Regions from separate parts of the Homo sapiens genome. Here regions 2 and 3 are each linked to region 1. Evidence: promoter capture Hi-C in human tissues and cell types (Jung and others, 2019). All regions are on one chromosome and are shown on one strand. The core of a region is centred on a gene start or on the middle of the fragment in contact, and the rest is flanking DNA. Distances in the headings are between cores, read along the strand shown.

Region 1 (4,138 bases), core at 1,122-3,621:
GTCCTTAGCACGGTGAAAGTGGGGTCCCACAGTCTCGGAAATCATCCAAACTGAAATGGCCAGGGAGATTAGAAGGAAAATAACGCCAGAAGGGCCAAGAGTATCCTTGTTCCTTTAAAAATAACTCTAATAACTTGAAAGCCCCTGGGAATGTATGTTGATTCTGTATTACAGAGGGGATAACGGACTCCGCTGGAAACAGATGTGATCTGCTTGATTTCCTCTGATACCATGAGCTGAAAACAAAGAAAACTACTGAACGTGATAACATTCAGGTTAAACAGTTCAAAGTTCCAAAAAGCGCAGTTTGGAAGGAAGCCTTTGAGTAATAAGCCATAAATTTTGTTGCAATCATCAACATAAGACAAAACTAGCTATGTCCCAAGGCCCTTTGTCTAGAAAAGAATTCTTTTCTTCTCCAAATCCCTCAAATGAGTTTTAAATGTGCAAATGATGGCTATAATTTACACAGAAACTTGAAACTATTAGCAGTTTAATCCACCTAAAATCCTAATGAAGTTCTGCAGTATTATTCCTGTTTGTACAGCCCAGCAAACAGAGCACAGGAACTGCCGCCCATAGACTCTGGCAGCTAGCTGTGCAATGAAATGAGACTGTAGGCCCAATCTTTGTAAAAAATACCAGATTATTATTGGGATTCAGGAGATCTGGAAGTTCAGAGCCAAAAAGGCTTTAGAAAACGACAACTAGATCTTATTATTTTTCCTTTGCAGTGATTTCTCTAAAAGGAAACAACCCAATGTGGGATTTAAAACTTTCCCTTCATTATGGTTTGTTTTCTAATAGCCTGAATCTGAGCATGAATAGGTAGGGGGAAGGCGGTGGGTTCCGGACACCCTGATCATCATTCAGATTCGTTATTTGCTTGAAAAGGGTGACAGAGGCCACCTTTCCAACAGGTGAATGCAGGGTTGCCTTTTAGAAAACACTTCTGCTTCGTTCCCTCCTGTCCCCCACCGTCTCTATCCCCATCTCTTAGATCACTGTTCACATTTATATCATTGAACTTGTAAATTGGTTGTCTTTATTGTTCTTTTTGAAAAGTGTCTGCTCTAGATTTAAGCACAAGTGAATGCTGTGTATGTGGGGAACAATCTTGTAACAGGAGCTGCGGGCAGCAGAGCCCTCCTGTGTGGGTTTTGTGGACCCCTAAGCAGCAAAACTCAGAATATATAACACCCACCACCACCAAAATATTTATCTGGATCCAAAATTTCAGACAGCACTTGCTTCATCTGCTCTTCTGTTCCTTTCTTCCTGAATCCTGGCTGCCTCATTTCAATAGATAAATGAAATCTTTCTCACTTTCTCAATACTCTTTGGGGAAATTCCACTTTGAAATTCTCTTTTCCCTGTCATTTTTACTTTACAGTTGAGAAGACAGGGATGAACTAGGAAACAGGATCTCGATCTCTTTCTCTCTCTCTCTCGCCTTCTCTCTTTTTTAAATGACGTAGGGAGTTTGGACATCCTCCCTACCCCCACCTCCCCTCTCTGATTCCAACCCTGATTCCTGATTCCTGGAGAATTATAGTTTTCCTTTTAATGCTTGCTGATTACCGCACCGGGGAGGAGCAGGAGGGGCTGCCCAAGGAAGAGCCCCGGAGCCCATTCTGATCTCCGAGGAGCCCCAGCTGCCGGGTCCCGGTCAGGCTGGTCACAAAGCCCGGCGGGGCTGGAGCGCGAGCGCATCTGGCAGAGGCTTCCAAGCGTCCCGCGGTGCGCCCGTCCCGGCGGGGGCGGCTCCACTCCGCCCGGGCCCGAGTTCGCTGGGGGACAACTTACTGTGCTTGCCGAGCGTCCACACTGCAAACTCCCAAGCGGGAGGGGGAAGAGAGCCCAGGCTGCGCCGTGCCGAGGAGTAGAGGCAACAAAAGACCGAGGCACGAGGGGAGGGAGGCAGGCACGGAGGGACCGCGGACTCTGGCCCCTAGCTCCCCGAGAGCGCCCCTCGGATGCTGCTGGGGAGACCCTCCGGGCCTCTCTTTGGGGCCTCTGGGGCCCGCGGCTCAGACAGGTAGTTGGAGGAAAGAAGAACAAAGCTGCCCGCGGAGGCAGGCGGCGGTCTCGGGGCGCCCCGGGGCGGGGAGAGCCGAGGCCGAGGAGGCACCCCGCGCCCCCTGCCCCGCGGCCCGAGCGCCCCGTGCCGGCTGCCTCCGCCGCCTCCCCTCACGCCTCCTCCTCCCCGAGGAATCGGCGCTTCCGAAGGGACGGGCGGCGGGCGGCGGAGGACGCGGGGGAGCGGGGAAGGCCGGCGGCGTGGGGGGGGGCGCCGGAGGAGGGGGTGGGGCGGGGGGCGGGGGCGGGGGCGCCCCCCGACTCCGCCGAGCCGGGCGGGCCCCGACCGCCACCCTGCCGCAATTTCCCTGTGTCATGGCTCCGGTCTCTTAGCAACAGCCGCCAGTCCGGCCGCCCCGAGCCGCCGCCGCGGGCTCAACTCCACCCGGCGGAGCCCGGCGCGCCGCAGCCACACAAAAGAGGCGCGAGGGCCGGCGGCGCGGCCGCAGGGGCCCGCCCGGGAGCGCCGCGCTAGGGGACGCCGGGAGCTGGAGGATGAGCGGCGGAGAGGAGGGCTCCGAGGCGGGATGCGGGATGCGGGATGCGGAGGACCTGACACTTCTTGGAAACTCTTGGAAATGGCTCCCGCCACAGCGCCGGCGGGGACTGCGAGCCTGGGGCGGGCGCTCGCCCCCGCGGGGCTGCTGAGTCGCGCTCGGATGCGGGGCCCCGGGGCGCTGTCCCTGCGCTCCGCCGTCGGCTCGGGCTGAAAAAGTTTCTCCATGGTTCCTTTGTGTCGCCCGAGCGCCCGTTCGCCGGCCCCGACCTCCCTCGGTCTCCCTGGGTAAGTGAGCGATCTTGCGTGCGGAGAGTGCTGCCATTTTGAGCAATTCTGCCAGTCCCCAGCCCTTGGGGGCCCCTCCCCGCCCCTCGGGTCCCCGAGTCCCCGCGCCCCGGGCTGGTGTTCGGTGAGAGGCTTTTTCCCGGGCTGGCTACACGGGATGCGCTGCCCAGAAAAAGCTAGTTCAGGATTGCCCTCACTTGGCTCCTGCCTGTCTTCTTTCCAGAGGCGGACTCCCAGCTGCTGCACTCATGTGACTCCAGCTAACATCAATAAGCAGACCAAAGCCAGGGGCCAGGGGGTCGCCGCCCTGCCAGTGAGGGGCCGGGGTCGAGGACCTGGGTTGGGTACCGGGCACAGCACAGCGCTCCCAGCCTGTGGGATCCGAGCCTCCGAGCCTCAGAGTGGGGCTTAATCCATCTTGAGCGGAGAACTTGAATGTCTCTCTTGGAAGCAGTTGTATTTTTAGACATCCCTCCTTTGCTTCCCCCATCCTCCATTCTTTAACCACGGTAAGACCAGCTCCAGGCAGTAAATTGCGAGGGCAGCCAAGCTTGACTGCTAAGTTTGTTTTCTTTCATTAGGTATAAAGGAAAACCTCAAAGGTGGGTCTCCCGTGGCATCTGACCTTTGTCTGTATTTCGTGTCAGATGATGATACATTAAAAGGGAGTACAGCCTTCAACAGAGCTGAAGGAATAATAAACGAGGGAGTTAATTACTAGCTATTAAACTCATTTTAAAGATGTGCGGTAAAGGACTGTTGAAATCCATTCCAACCTTCCTTACATTCTACCGGAGCCAAAGCTGCCTTGCTGAGGAGAAATCCAAGTGGGTTTCCTCCTCCCCCAAGGCATCCAGCCTCCCGGCGCACCTGATCAATGCCCAACAAAACATGTAGCCTTTCTGCGGTGGGAGAGCCACCCTGCCAACTGAGTCTGAGTTCGCTTCTAAAAAATGTCTGGTCCTTAAAGCCTTCTTAAGATAACCACGGATCTCCAGATTATTTAAGATGCTGGACTCCAAGGATCACTTAAAACAACAGTCTCTATGTTACAACCACATAATAAATGTGCTTACTTATTTGGGATTAGAGATAGACAGTAAGCTCTTTTTTTTGTTTGTTTCAATCTGTACTTACTGGTGCAGCTTAAAGGTTTATAGATGTATTCTCTATACTGACCCCTCTCTTATCTACCTGGTGCTTCTCTTTACTGAAACCCAGCTAAGTCCCAAAGAGATATTGATTTGCAAATATTGCAAAGAGCTGATTACCATT
Region 2 (4,138 bases), core at 452-2,951, 1.1 Mb before region 1:
GACCTCCTGTGAGGTGACGCTTCTCTCTTCCTGTCTTTTTCCTTTCGTTCCTTCCTAAGGGGAAAACAGTGCACTGAAGGGGATGTCATGGCAAACATTTGATTTTTAGCTTTAGCAGCCCAATGTTTGGCTCAGTCTTTTTTGGGCAATAGAAATATTAGAAGTCACATTGTTTAAAAAAATCAGATTCCTCCACCAGGAATGGGCTGGAGCACCGGACAATATTCTGACTTAGTGCTGCCCTCTTGCCTTAGTCAACAAGAAACTTGCAATACTCATGCCATTGACTGTGTTTCTAAGGAGGATGGAACTTGATCATATCTGAACATTTACAAATCACCAGCATGTGACCTGGGTAGCTTTAGACAAGCCAGCCCTATTTTGAGACCTTTTATGGCCCCTCGCTATTTTACTTTGGTGGGCTCCACCTTACATGTGAAATATATGAAAATGCGCTTGGAATCCTCAATGAAAGTAATCTGTTGCTAAAAATATTTTGAAATCACTTGGACAAACATATTGATATTAATACCATAACAAGAATAGGCCGTAAGACTCATTGCACAACCATTACGTTTTTGTGTGTGTGTTTCTACCTTTAAAAAGAAATAAGGAACTGGATTATGGTGATGGTTGCACAGCTCGGTAAGGTTTTTACTAAAAGTCATTGAATTGTACACTTAAAATGGGTGAATTGTGTAGCATGTAAATGATACCTCAGTTAAGATGTTTAAGAAAAAAGACATTTCTGTACTCTGGCAACTGAGCAGTTTCTGTTTGTAACGTAGTGGAAAGAGGATGACTTTCCCTTCTCTTGCAGTCGTGCCTCTCTGGCTATTACCGCGTGGATGGAATACTCTTTGGAGGAATTTGTCAACCCTGTGAATGCCACGGCCATGCAGCTGAGTGTAATGTTCACGGCGTTTGCATTGTGAGTCTCTCACTGTAGTTCAGGTGCCCTCTCCTCCTCAATTCAGAGCCATTTGCTGTGTACAAGTGATTTTTTTTTAAGTGCTTCCTCCACGGAATAACCCTAGCCTCATAGACCCCAAAGAAAATTTACAGATTTAAGCTCATGTCATGAAATGTTTCCCGTTTTTTTTTTTGTTTTTTTTTTGAAAAAAGTTACTTTGGTAATAGTGGAAAAGGGATATACAACTTCATTATAGTTCTTTTTATTAGATTAATATAAAGTAATTGTTTTTATTTGCTGAGACTATAAAGCAATAGAAAGGTAAAAAAATGTTGTCTACTTATTAAATACAAAGCATAGGATCTTTAGATGACAGTGCTAATATTTATTTATTTATTTATTTGAGACAGGGTCTTACCTTGTCACCCAGGCTGGAGTGTGGTGGCACCAACACTGCTTACTGCAGCCCTGGATCTTCTGGGCTCAAATGGTCCTCCCACCTCAACCCTCCAAGTAGCTGAGGCCACAGACAATGCTAGTATTTTTTTTAAATCATGATATTACATAATATACCCTAAGAAGAAGAATAAAGTATAATCACACTCACTTATATACCATGCTTTATAGTTAGTTGGGATAAATTAATCAAACAGGTACTTCTTTCATGCAATATGAGTTGAAATAGGGCTTAAGAAATAGGTAGTTAATCTTGAGAATGAACTTTGGGGCAGGTGTGGGGCAAGACTTGTTTCTTAACTTCAATCAGGAATTCTTCTAGGCCCTATGCCCTGAAGCCAGGCCACACTCTGGGGTCTCATGGGTTTGATCCTCAGAGGTGGAGTGACTGCATATGCTGATCAGCTGTACCCTGGTCGCCTGGCAGGGAAATGTTCATGCTTTTTCCAAAAGAGATTGACTGAGTCACAGAGTTAGGGAAAATTAATTACCAGACCCAGGGAGAAGATCTTAGAATGATGTCCAGGATGGCTTATGTCCAGGATGGCTTAGAACTTAATTTTTCTTTATTCTGTAAGTAAAACTTTTGTTTTGCCCTTTGTTCTGTAAGTAAAGCTTCTGTAGGAATTGCATGAAGGGGTGGTTTACGGGCAGACTCAGTCCCTCCAGGATTGCTTTCCTCAGGTGCACAGCTTCCAACCGCTTGATGAGGTGGTTGCTTTTTTTTTCACCTCCTTTCCTTTGCCATTTGGGTTTGCAAGGCCTCCTGCCAGCATTTGGGGTGGGGTGGGGTGGGGGGTACAGCAGGCTGTGGTTCTGCCACTTATGTCTTTTGTAGCTAGGCTGAAAGAGTAGATTTCTCATGCTTCCATTAATGTATGTTTACAAATATATATTCACATTAAAGTGATAATGCTAAATAGCAACTGGCCTTAAAGCTTTAATTTTAATAAATAATAATTTTATAGCTTTAAACATGTTTTGGAAATAATTTTAGACTTACAGAAGAGCTATGAAAGAGTTACAGAAGTACAGAGAGTTCTGAAGTAACCTTCCCCCAGCATCCCCTAATGCTACCATCTTGCATAACTAGAGTGGAGTTATCAGAATGAAGAAGTAGCACGATAAGATGAACTACACCCCACATTCTGATTTCATCAGTTTTTCACTCATGCTCCTTTTTTTTGTAGGATCGAACCCAGGACCCCACACCATTCAGTGACTTTGCCTTTTTAGTCTCCTCTCCTCTAGGAAAGTTCCTCAGACTTCCTTGTCCTTCATGACTATGACACTTTTGAAGAGCACTGAGCATTCTGTGGAATGTCCCCCAGCCAGGGCTTGTCTGATGCTTTCTTATGACTAGGTTGAGGTTACACATTTTTGACCAGAAGACGTGGAGGTGCCGTGCCCTCTCATTGAGAGCAGATGGATAGGATATCATTGTGTCTTCTTCCTGGGGATCTTAATCTGGGTCACTTGAATTAGGTGATGTCTGCTAGGTTTTTCCACTCTGAAGTTACTATTTCTCCCTTCTTAATTAATGTTTGAGAGGGCAAAAATAATAAAAATTTAAATTAGAATTTAAGGAAATACAAAAAACGTGGTAGCATCATATATCTGTTAAATCTAACCTTGCTGGTTTTTTTTTTTCTAATATATTGTAAAAACAAGCTTGAATTCTTCCTTTTGTGTAGTTGTTCATAGCCCTGGGCCTTGCGTATAACTATCTAGCTTCCAGGAGTTAATTCTTTATTCACAGTTCATTAGAGATGAGGTTCCAGTTGCTCTTAGAGCCCCTGTTTTTCTCTCTGAGCTCTCTTAGCTCTTTATTCAAAGGAGAAGTCTGTGTATTTTCCTTGCAGCTTGGCATGATTTAGAAAAGAGAATGGCATCACAGTAAATTGTGCATGTCTTGGGCCCTCATGTCTTTCTTTTTTCAATCGAAAGATGTTTTTCCTCCCCAAGGAGAGGAATAGTCTCATTCCTTCACATACCAGATTCACCAACAGGGACAGTCAGGTAAAGGGCTGGTGGCACACGCCTGAAAAAGCACTGAAACAGACCCTCAGTGGGTTTTTCAACAGAACTACATACTAGTTTCCCCAAAGAGAAAGAAAGCACTATCTGACTCCTTGATCAAAGAAAACATACCATAGACATGTTCCAAATGAGCATTATCAAATATTTTTAAAATGAAATTGCAGTTACTCTGCAGAATACTTTTAGCTCAACCATGTAACCCTTTACTAAGACCAGTTGCATCTTGAATTAATTTGGATTCATTATCAAACCCAAGGTCCTATGAAGGATGGGAAGGAAAAAAGGGTCTAAGACTCTGTTGTCTGAGGACCAGCAGTGTGGGCATCACCTGGGAGCTTGCTAGAAGTGCAGAAACTCAGGCCCCACCTCAGATCCCCTGAACCAGAGTCTACAGGTAACCCAGGTGCACTTATTAATAGATTCATATTCCAGTTTAGATGCTCTGGTCTAGGATAACCCTAAGTAAAACTGATGAAACCCTGGAGTAAAATGGATGTAATACAAATGCTTACAATTCCAAATTAAATGTGGTATATGGGAAAACTTTCATCAACCTGAGGAATGATGGAAATGTATATGGTTTAGAAACTGAAAATACTAAATTGCTAGATGAAAAATGACCAATGAAAGTATGTAAAATGAGTGGCCGTAGGAGAAGGGGACACGGGGAAATGGGAGCTGAGGTGCACACCAAGAGGAGCAGCGACACACGTGTGCAGAACAAGCCCC
Region 3 (4,138 bases), core at 1,141-3,640, 1.0 Mb before region 1:
CACAGACCAAGCGGGGAAGTTTTGCTGATTCCTCCCCTGCTCCCCCAGGGAAATAGAAAGAATGAATTTGGGAGGAGAGTTAAAATAGGGAAGTTAATCAAAATGGTGTCATGCTTCTGAAAGTTCTTACAGTATTCTCTTTGTTTTGCAGAGTCTCCAGAGAGACTTTCCAACTTCAAATCACACTGAAAAGACCGAAGCCAGCCAGGCGCAGTGGCTCACACCTGTAATCCCAGCACCTTGGGAGGCCGAGGCGGGTGGATCACTTGAGGTCAGGAGTTCGAGACCAGCCTGGCCAACATGGTGAAACCCCGTCTCTACTAAAAATATAAAAATTGTCTGGGCGTGGTGGCGGGCATCTGCAATCCCAGCTACTAGGGAGGCTGAGGCAGGAGAATCACTTGAACCCGGGAGGCGGAGGTTGCAGTGAGCCAAGATCACTCCACTGCACTCCAACCTGGGCAACAGAGCAAGATTCTGTCTCAAAAAAAAAAGAAAAGAAAAGAAAAGAAAAGAAAAGCAAAGAAAAGAAAAGAAAAGAAAAGACCCAAGCCTACTCCATATCAACATTAAAATATTCTCATTTAAATTTTGAAAACATTTTAGAAAAGCTGTGCAACTGTTCCCACATGAGATAAAAATATCAGAAACCTACTGATTTTTAGTTTTTATCTGAGAAATTCATAAAACATACCTTTATGATTATAGCAACATATTTCTTTTAGAGTAATCAGAGAATTTAGCAGTAGAAATTATTACAGTATGCTTACCTATATTTCCTCCAATTTCATATAACCTTTGGTTCTGAATCTTAATACATTCTGATGAACCATGACTGAAAAAAATGAGAAAATAATATAATTTTAGTACTTTTTCCTGATCTGAGGTAAAAATGCATGTTAAATAACCAGGCAACAAACAATTCATTCTGCCTTGACGAAATGTGTCCCACAAAACTGTATCATGACTGAAGTTATGATAAAAATAATTGTTTTTCCGTCTGACACAGACAAGAAGCTGAGGCCCAGGGAGGACGGGACTGCTCCCACCAGGATGGGCAGCCGCAGTGCTCCACTACATAGAGCCCATTCAGGCCACAGCTGCCTGCTCCATTTCAGGTTAGTTACTGTTACTGACACATCAAGGCTGGACACGGAGCAGCTGCGTGTTTAGTACTGCCTTGTCATTGGCCATATTACTCTCAATCCAAAAGAAGTCAGGTTTTATTTCTGCATTTGCCAAAAAATTGAATGGAATTATCAGCCCATGTCACATTTCTCAGTTTGCCTCAAGCTTTGCAAGGTGTCTAAGGCTGACTTCATTGCAAGTCTCTGCCCCATAATAAAAGCAAGTCACGGCCGGACACGGTGGCTCATGCCTGTAATTCTAGCATTTTGGGAGGTTGAGGCGGGTGGATCATCTGAGGTCAGGAGTTTGAGACCAGCCTGGGTAACATGGCAAAATCCCATCTCTACTAAAAATACAAAAAATCAGCCGGGCGTGGTGGCATGTGCCTGTAGTTCCAGCTACCCAGGAGGCCGAGGCAGGAGAATTGCTTGAACCCGGGAAGAGGAGGTTGCAGTGGGTGGAGATCGTGCCATTGCACTCCAGCCTGGGCGACAGAGTGAAACTCCATCTCGAAAATAAAATAAAATAAAATAAAATAAAACAAAATAAAATAAACTATAAAATAAAATAAAAGCAAGTCACAGGAAACTATCGCTCAATTTAATTTTTCCACCCTAGACTAGAATGCTGGGTTAGAAGAGTCTGAATGACCATCGCTGACCTCCATCCCCATCAAGGAGTGACTTTCAGCTTGGTTACTTCAAATGATTGTCCTGGCCTCTCCACTGTGAGGAAGATGCAAGTGTGCCCTCTTTTTTTGTTGTTGTTTTTTGTTTAATTGAACTTTCATTTGAGGTGCTGTAGATTCACACGTAGTTTTAAGAAGTAATACAGGTGCATCCTGTGCACCCTACACCGATTTCTCTCAATAGTAACATCTCACAAAACTCTAGTGCAGTATCATGACCAGAATGTTGACACCCATTCAGGGAAGATGCAGAACATTTCCAGCCCCACAAGGCACCCCCTGTTGCCTCTTTATAGCCACATTCACTCCTTCTCCCCATCCTACCCTATCTCCATCCCTCACCCCCAGCAGCACTTCCCTATTCTACATTTCTGTAAGTTGGTCAATTCACAAAGGTTAAACAAATGGAAACACACAGTATGAAACATTTTTGTATTGCCTTTTTTTCCCCACTTGGCATAAATCCCTAGAGATCTACCCAAGTTGCTGCATTTTTATTGCTGAGTAGTATTCCATGGTATAGATGGGCCAGTTTCTGTAGTCACTCACCTGTTGAAGGACACCTAGGCTTTTTTTTTTTTTTTCCAGTTTTTGACTGTACAAATAAAGCTGCTATCAGCATTTGTGAACAGGTTTGTGTGTGAACATGGTCTTCATTTCTTTGGGATAAATGCCCAGGAGTGTCAGTGCTGGGTCATACGGCAGTTGGAGATTTAGTTTTTTAAGAAACTGCCAAACTATTTTATGGAGTGACTGCACTATTGACATTCCCACCAGAAATGAATGAGTGATCCCGTTTCTCTGTATCTTTGCCTGTATTTGGTGTTGTCACTATTTTTTATTTTAGCCATTCTCACAGGTGTGTAGTAATATGCAATTGTGGTTTTAATTTCCATTTCCATAATGGCCAACGATGTTGAACATCTTTTCATGGGCATATTTGCCATTTGTTTATCTCTTTGGTGAAAAGTAATCTGTATCTCCTTAGTAAAGTGTCTGTTCATGTCTTTTGCCCACTTTCAAATTGGATTGTTTGGTTTTTTTAACTGTTGAACTTTGAGTGTTTTATTTATATATTCTAGATACTAGTCCTTTGTTGGATATGTGGTTTTGCAAATATTTCATCCCAGTCCTTAGTTTGTCTTTTCATCCTATTCACATGGTCTTTTAGAGTATAAGTTTTCCATTTTGGTGAGGTCAATTTATCAATTTTATTTCTTATGGGTCACATTTTTTATGTCAAGCTCTAAGAACTCTTTAGTTTTAGATCATAAATGTTTTCTCCTACATTATTTTCTAAGGGTTTTATAGTTTTACACTACACACTTAAGTCTGTGATCCATTTCGAGTTAATTTTTGAATAGGTGTGAGGTTTAGATCGAGGTTTATTTATTTATTTTTTGCCTATGGATGTCCATTGCTACAACACCATTTACTGAAAAGGCTTCCTCCATCAAATTGCTTTTGTAGTTTTCTCAAAATCAGTTGCTGGAATAGTCAAATTCAGAGAGACAGAAAGGAGAAGAATGGTTGCCAGTGGCTAAAGGCAGGGAGAATGGGTATAGAGTCTCAGTGTGGGATGAGAAAAAGATTTTGGGTATGAATGACGGTGATGGTTGCACAACAATGTGAATGTATTTAGTGCTATTGAACTGTCCCTTTGAAATGGTTAAAACATACTTTTATGTTATGTATAGTTTACAATAAAAATCTTTTAAAAATCAGATGGGCCTATTTGTGTAGGTCAATTTCTGGGTTCTGTATTCTATTCCATTGATCTAAGTATCTATCCTTCCACCAATATCATACTATCTTGATTATTCTACCTTTTATATAATCAGCCTTAATATCTAGTAAAGTGATTCCTCCTACTTTATTTTTCTTTTTCAATATATTTTAGTTATTCTAGGGCCTGTGCTTTTCCATATATATTTGTAGAATAAGCTTGTGCATGTTTACAAAGTATCATGCTGGAATTTTGACAGGAATTGCATTAAACTCATAGATCAATTTGGGGAGAATTGATATCTTTACTGTGTTATCTTCCAATCCATGAAAATGATATGTTTCTCCATTTCTTTAGGTCTTCTTTAATTTCTTTCACCAGCATTTTGTAATTTTCAGTGTACAGATCCTGTAAAGGTTTACTTAAGTTTATACTTAAGTATTTATTTTTAGAGTGACTGTAAAGGGTATTGTGTTTTTACTTTTGGTTTTAAATTTGGTTTCCACATGTTCCAATGTGATTGATTTTTGTGTGTTAATCTTGTATCCTGTGATCTTACTGAACTGACTTATTACTTCTAGGTCTTTTTAAATTTT

What was found. The method cuts DNA at HindIII sites, captures the fragments that hold promoters and counts their contacts. A contact is called where the count stands out against the background at its distance.
Region 2: a contact is called between a fragment that was not itself captured here and the fragment with the promoter of TMEM200C in region 1, in 1 of the 25 tissues and cell types used here (hippocampus).
Region 3: a fragment that was not itself captured here is called in contact with the fragment with the promoter of TMEM200C in region 1 in 1 of the 25 tissues and cell types used here (dorsolateral prefrontal cortex).

Annotation. Positions count from the first base shown.
Region 1 is chr18:5,893,755-5,897,892 of GRCh38, reverse strand. TMEM200C (transmembrane protein 200C) reads left to right here and starts at 2,371. Exons shown (of 2, transcript NM_001395400.1): 1 at 2,371-2,863. All of the region lies in intron 9 of MIR3976HG (MIR3976 host gene), which reads right to left. LOC121725015 (a long non-coding RNA gene) reads right to left here and starts at 2,166. Exons shown (of 3, transcript NR_172505.1): 1 at 1,807-2,166. The HindIII fragment of the contact is 12,914 bases long and covers 1-4,138 here.
Region 2 is chr18:7,028,859-7,032,996 of GRCh38, reverse strand. LAMA1 (laminin subunit alpha 1) reads left to right here. Exons shown (of 63, transcript NM_005559.4): 15 at 1-13; 16 at 821-931. Among named protein-coding and RNA genes, the nearest start is that of LAMA1, 87 kb to the left of the region's middle. The HindIII fragment of the contact is 6,276 bases long and covers 1-4,138 here.
Region 3 is chr18:6,905,657-6,909,794 of GRCh38, reverse strand. ARHGAP28 (Rho GTPase activating protein 28) reads right to left here. Exons shown (of 18, transcript NM_001366230.1): 17 at 771-835. Among named protein-coding and RNA genes, the nearest start is that of LINC00668, 22 kb to the left of the region's middle. The HindIII fragment of the contact is 3,706 bases long and covers 538-4,138 here.